Linked DNA regions of Homo sapiens: region 2 is linked to region 1. The links are contacts of gene promoters, found by promoter capture Hi-C in human tissues and cell types (Jung and others, 2019). All regions are on one chromosome and are shown on one strand. The core of a region is centred on a gene start or on the middle of the fragment in contact, and the rest is flanking DNA. Distances in the headings are between cores, read along the strand shown. Region 1 holds the start of MCMDC2 (minichromosome maintenance domain containing 2). Region 2 overlaps MCMDC2 (minichromosome maintenance domain containing 2).

Evidence for each region. Contacts are between HindIII fragments. The study calls those that stand out against the background at their distance.
Region 2: a fragment that was not itself captured here is called in contact with the fragment with the promoter of MCMDC2 in region 1 in 1 of the 25 tissues and cell types used here (hippocampus).

Annotation. Positions count from the first base shown.
Region 1 is chr8:66,869,315-66,872,479 of GRCh38, forward strand. MCMDC2 (minichromosome maintenance domain containing 2) reads left to right here and starts at 1,457. Exons shown (of 15, transcript NM_173518.5): 1 at 1,457-1,517. RefSeq lists an enhancer at 1,674-1,743. The HindIII fragment of the contact is 9,372 bases long and covers 1-3,165 here.
Region 2 is chr8:66,917,643-66,921,161 of GRCh38, forward strand. MCMDC2 (minichromosome maintenance domain containing 2) reads left to right here. Exons shown (of 15, transcript NM_173518.5): 15 at 1,361-3,519. The coding sequence ends at 1,527. Among named protein-coding and RNA genes, the nearest start is that of SNORD87, 3.1 kb to the right of the region's middle. The HindIII fragment of the contact is 4,437 bases long and covers 1-3,519 here.

The sequences.
Region 1 (3,165 bases), core at 207-2,706:
TTATCCTGTCTGCTAATAGTATTAATCCAGAGTAGCTGGAATTACAGGCGCGCGCCACCACACCTGGCTAATTTTTGTATTTTTAGTAGAGATGGGGTTTCACCATGTTGTCCAGGCTGGTGTCCACTCCCGACTTCAAGTGACCCACCCGCCTTGGCCTCCCAAAGTGCTGGGATTATAGGCGTGAACCACCGCACCCGGCCAACCTCAATAAGATTTAATTCAAGTACTGTACAATTCAACTATTTAAAATGTACAATCAACTGGCTTTCAGTAGATTCAGAGTTGTGTGACTATCACCACAATCAATTTTAGATCATTTCCATCACTTCTAAAAGAAAACCTGTGTGAATTCATGAACAACAAAAAATATGGTACACACACAGTGGAATATTATTCAGCCTTAAAAAGGAAGGAAACTCTAACATGTTACAACATGGATGAAACTGGAAGATGTTTGGCAAAGTGAAATAAGCCCATCACAAATGGACAAATACTGTTTGATTCTATTTACATGAGGTACCTGGAGTAGTCGAATTCAAGGAAGCAAAGACTGATGGTTGCCAGGGGATGAGGAAGAGAAGAATGGGGAGTTGTTTAATGTGTATGGAGTTTCAGTTTGGGAAAATGAAAACAGTTCTACAGATAGTGGTGATGAGTGCACAGTGTGAACGTAGGTAGTGTAACTACACTTTAGGATGGTTAAAATTGTATATTTTATGTATATTTTACCACAATTTAAAAAGAACAAGAAATCCCATACGCATTAGCAATCATTCTGCATTCTCAACCAACCTCTGGGCAACCACAAATCTGCTTTCTTTCCTTATGGATTCGCCTATTCTGGACATTTCATATAAACAAAATTACACAACATATGGCCTTTTGTGTCTGGCTTCTTACATAGTGTTTGCCAGGTTCATCCATGTTGTAGCATGTATTAGTGCCTCATCACGTTTTATGGCCAAAACCATTCCATTGTATGGCTTACACCACAGTTATCCATTAATCGGTGATGGGCATTCATATTGTTTCCACTTTGGGGCTACTATGAATAATACTATGAACATTCGTGTAGAAGTCTCTGTGTGAACATATGTTTTCAATTCTCTTGGGTGTATTTATAAATACCTAAGAGTGGAATTACTGGATCATAGGGTAACTTTATGTTGAGTCCTTCGAGGGAATACTGGAATGTCTTCTAAAGTGACTAGACATTTTGCATTCCCTGAAGCAGCGTTTTGAATTTTTTAAACATAACATCATTTGCCTGAGATAACAACAAAAACCAAACGTAGACCTATTTTTTCTCTGCTTCGCTGGGAGGGAGCAAGAGTGAAGCTATTAAAACGTAAGGGAACAAGCCCGGCTAGTTCCCCTGCTGACCCGAGGGCGCGGGCGGTCCCGGCAGGCCCCGCGACGCAGCCAACGGCCGGGACGTGCGCGCATGCGCGCTAGGACTCCGCTCCGCCTACGCTGCAGGCGGAGAGCAACCGCCAAGCTTGGTGGGAGTCAAGGTGAGTGCAAAGCACTACAGCGCTGGGGTCCCACTAACTCGAGGTCACCGCTGTCAGTGGGAGGGGTCCTCATGAGTCTGGACTCGCTTTCATCCGCTTTGGTTGTGAAGTGTTTTCCTGCAGTCTTCCCCTCACCAGTTCATCCCCGGTGCTGACAGGGCACGGAGAGAAGACAGAATCCGCGCCTGTTCCACGTGCAGCAACACTCGGCGTTCGTTAGACTAAGGGAAGACAGGGAGTTAGAATTTTATCCCTGTTCCCTCACTTAACGCTTTTCCACAGGCTTCTATGTCTTTTCCCGACTTAATATGCCTCCGTGAAAACGCGTCCACTCCCCAGGGCCTCCGCTTTACGCAGTGACACCCAGACTTAGCTCTAACTCTTTTGATGCCACCGAACTCCAGGCCCTGATTTATGGCCCCCTCCTGCTTACATCTATCAGGGAATCCCAAGAGTCCTCAAAGTCAGGATATCTCAAGGGAACTTTTCCTCATGTCCTTAACACTTCTCCTTGGGCTCTGTATTTCCATTAGAGCAGCAGCATCCACCCATACCCATATTAAAACCCCACTTAGCTTTCGATTACTCTTCTGCGTATTGTAGACTGATCACCAGGTCCAGTGTGCAATCTTTAAAATTCTAGAATCGATCTCCTCCATTCCATTTCGTTCCTAATGCCCTGGATCAGGCCATCCAACTTGTAGGAATATCCCAATAGGTAGAAACTGATTATCAGCTCTCCCGCTATTCCAACCTACTTTCCACATTGGCAGCAGGCACAGGTTTCCAAAATAAAAATCTGACTATGGGCTAGGCGTAGTGGCTCATACCTGTAATCCCAGCACTTTGGGAGGATGAGACAGCTACCCAAGAGTTGGAGACCAGCCTGGGCAACACAGTAAAACTCCGTCTCTACAAAAAAATTAAAAATTATCTGGATGTGGTGGCACGTGCCTATAGTCCCAGGCTGAGAAGGGAGGATAGCTTGAGCCCGGGAGGTAGAGGCTGCAGCAAGCCGAGATCACGCCACTGCAACTCCAACCTGGGCAACATAGTGAGACCCTGTCTCAAAAAAAAAAAAAATCTGACTATAATACTAACCCCCTTAAAAAAACTTTGATGGCTTCCCTTTGCCTATATAATCTTCAAAAGCGTACATAATCTGGCCTCACCCAACCATTTAATTACCAATAGTCGCCCTTCATTCCACCCCAGAAACCTAATGTTCTAGTGCAGCAAAGATGTGATGTTCTGAACACAACACACATTTTGAGATCATTGTCCTTATGGCCACGGAGAAATAAACGCTAAAGTTTCACTTTTATGTTGTAGCAAAAAGGACAGTCTTAATTGGTTTTCTTTGGAAAGTAGCCTGAACTCCACGTAGTGGGTGTGTGGATCCAGTAGTGTAAAACTGATAATGAGGGTGGAAGGTGACCTCCATCTCTGGAACACTTTCTCTTTCTCTTCACCTCTCCTCCAATTAGTGAAATAGTCGTCTATCAAATGTCACCTTAAAGTAGAATTCATACCTTCTTCCCTATGACCCCACCATCTTCAATGAAAATGTCTTAAAATAATGGAAAATGTTATGACCCATATACAAGGATGACCCCAAATTTTGTGAAATATTTCATATATGTTGTTC
Region 2 (3,519 bases), core at 515-3,014, 49 kb after region 1:
ATAAGTGGAATCATACATTTGTCCTTTCATAACTGGCTTATTTCACTTAGCATAATGTTCTCAAGGTTCATCCATATTATGCATGTATTAGAATTTCCTTCCTTTTTAAGGCTGAATAACATCCTTTTGTATGTAAATAGAATGTTTCGTTTATCCATTCACCTGTCAATGGACATTTCTGTTGCTTCCACCTTTGTCTATTGTGAATTACACTGCTATGAACGTGGGTGTGCTAATATCTCTTTAAGATCCTGCTTTCAGTTCTTTTGGGTATATACCCAGAAGTGAAAGTGCTGTATCATACAGTAATTGTTTACTCTTTTTGATGAACCGCCATCCTGTTTTCCACAGTGGGTGCACCATTTTCCATTCCCAACAGTGCACAAAGCTTCTAATTTCTCCACATCCTCTCTAACACTTGTCATTTTGTTTTTTATTTTTATAATAAATCCTTATAGGTGTGAGGTAGTAGCTCATTGTAGTTTTGATTTGTATTTTCCTAGTGATTAGTGATGTTGAACATCTTTCTCATGTGCTTATTGGTCATTTGTTTTTCTTTAGAGAAACGATATTAGTTCTCCGCCTATTTTTTAATGATTATTTTCTTACTGTAGATTTATAGACCCCTTTATCAGAGATTTGATTTGCAAGTATTTTCTCCCATTCCATAGGTTGCCTTTTCACTGTTGATTGTATTGTTTTATGCAGTTTTAAATTTTGATATGGTCCCATTTATGTGTATTTTCTTTTGGTGCCTGTACTTTTGATGTCACATTCAGGAAATCATGGCCAAATCCAAAGTGAATCTGTCCTTTCCCCTAGAATGGTCTTGAAACCCTTCCATAGATTTATGTTGTCTGCCTTTATGTGAATGGTTTTAACAACTGAGAAATGTACTACAATGTCTTTATCTTTGATCGTCCACTTAGCCGTTATCAAATAAAGATTAGTATTTCTTACCTTCCAGTACCTTTTCTCCCTACTCCTGTCACCTCCTCACATCACTCATCAGCTTCAAAACTATAATGACTATTTCAGTAGAAGGCAAGTTTCTAGTTCCAAACTTTAAAATATAAACATCAACATACTTCTTCCATTGGCCCTGGTACCAATGCGTGTGCACTTACTGAACCTGCTTTCTGGGTTTCAGAAAACAAGAGTCAGATTTCAATAATGATTATTGAAATACTCTACTGAATAGGTCAGAACTTAATTTTTTGACTTTTATTTTTCACAGAACCACATGGGCTCAGACTTAATTTTTAAGATTCCATTAAAATATTTTGGTTGAAAATGTGATTTCATACTTGTCATTTTAAGGAGTATTTGTCATTTACACTCTATTATCTTCTTCATTTAGGGGCCACTGTATTTTGTGTTGCTCCGAATGCAGTATTTCCATTTGAACTGTATAATGAAGAATACTTAGAGCAAAGGGATCTCTATCTGACTCAGTGCCAACAACAGCTGGAACAATTTATTGCCACATATGGACCTGGGACAACTATTTTCTCTAGTGATGAATAAGCAATTTGAGGAATTTTTGTTCATTCCTACTTAAGCAGTGGAGAAAAAGTGTGACTATTTTGAGAGTGACTTTGAAGTAATGCTTTGATAATACTCTGTACAGGAATATATTACAATACTGTTTTTAAAAATATAAAATATAGTCCCCTCAAAACTAATTGCTAATGGGATAAATACTAATCCAAACCTCTAAAACCAACAGAATTTTAAAACTTAGAACAATGTGGACAATTTAAAGTGATAAAGTTGTCAAGGAGAATACTATAAAGAAAAACCTGGTTAGCCCAGAATACCAGTGGTGAACAGATAAAAATGTAAATGTTGCAATTTGAGCAGTGTGTAAAATGGCAACCTTTATGTAGTTCACTCTACTGTCACAAGATGGCAATAACTCTTTACCTACAAATTACTCTAAAACATTTTTCTTCCACTTGTGAACTTGCTAAACTGATGAGTAAATACTTTATATAACCCGAAGCTTCAAATGTAAGGCCTTTTCATACTTTATTACTGGCCTGTCCATTACATACTACTGTTTTAGAAGCCCTAAATATGGAATCGGGAAAAGCCTTGGAAGTTTTCCATACGTATACGCTAGGTTAAATGAAAAAAATACTTTACACGGAAACAAGGAGCCAATAACTTATAAATTGGCTCTCTAACCCTAACTGGTTACAAGAAAGGCTCCAAAAGGCAAAGAAACCAACTTGCAAATCTAGTCCTCATTTTTGGAGGGAAGATATCTGCTCTGAAAAGATAGGGGCACCATGAGAAAACAAATCCATCTTGTAAAATTTATAAATCCTTTTTAGTTCAGTTTCCATAACTTTAATAAAAGATCAGTTCTATTCACAGAAAAGCAAAATGTCATTACCAAATTGCCACTTTATTAACCAAGATGTTACCATGCATCAATTCTTTCAAAACTGGTCCCTTAACAGAGATGCTTAACTGTACAGCTGGACCTCTCCCACTCTCCACAGGACCCGGAGGAAGTTGTTCACTATTACTGAATACCTACTAGTAGCAGGGAGTAAACAGTATTAGTTTTCAGAAGCCAAAGGTAGTGTTTTTGTTTTTTGTTTTTTTGAGATGGGGTCTCGCTCTGTCATGCAGGCTGGAGTGCAGTGGTGTTATCTTGGCACTGCAACCTCCACCTCCCGGGTTCAAGTGATTCTCCTGCTGGGATTACAGGTGCACTCCACCATGACTGGCTAATTTTTGTATTTTTAGTAGAGACAGGGTTTCACCATGTTGGCCAGGCTGGTCTTGAACTCCCGACCTCAGGTGATCTGCCTGCCTCAGTCTCCCAAAGTGCTAAGACAACAGGTATGAGCCAACACGACTGGCGACTGTAGTTTTCAACAAAATACTTACATATTACAGTTCTATAATGTTAAGACGTTTATTTTGTGCTTCTCAAATACTACATTTCAAACATGTCTGGCTCTCTATGGGGGGAAGGCAAAACACATTCCTATTTTATAAAACTAGGATCCTTTTACAATTGGAAAGTTTAAAAACTTTTTTTTTTGGAGACAGGGGCTGTCACCGTTTGGAGGGTTGTGGCGCCACCTCAGCTCCCTGCAGCCTTGACCTTGCAAGTAATTCTCCCACCTTAGGCCTCCGAGTAGCTGGGACTACAGGGACATGCTACCACCCTGGGATAACTTCTGCATTTTTTGTAGAGATGGAATTTTGCCATGTTTCCCAGGCTGGTCTCAAGTCATCCTCCCATCTCAGTACCTCAGCTTCCCAGTGTTGGGATTACAGGAGTGAGCCACCATGCATGGCACAAAGATGGCTTTTATTTACTTATCTATATTTATATATACATATTTATATGTAGCTGTCACCCAAGCTGTAGTGTACTGATGCAATCATAGCTCACTGCCACCTTAATCTCCCCAGCTCAAAAAACCCAACCTCAGTCTCAAAGATGGTTACTTCACCACAAAAAAATTAAAATGTTTAAGTTTCTCATTAAAGAGT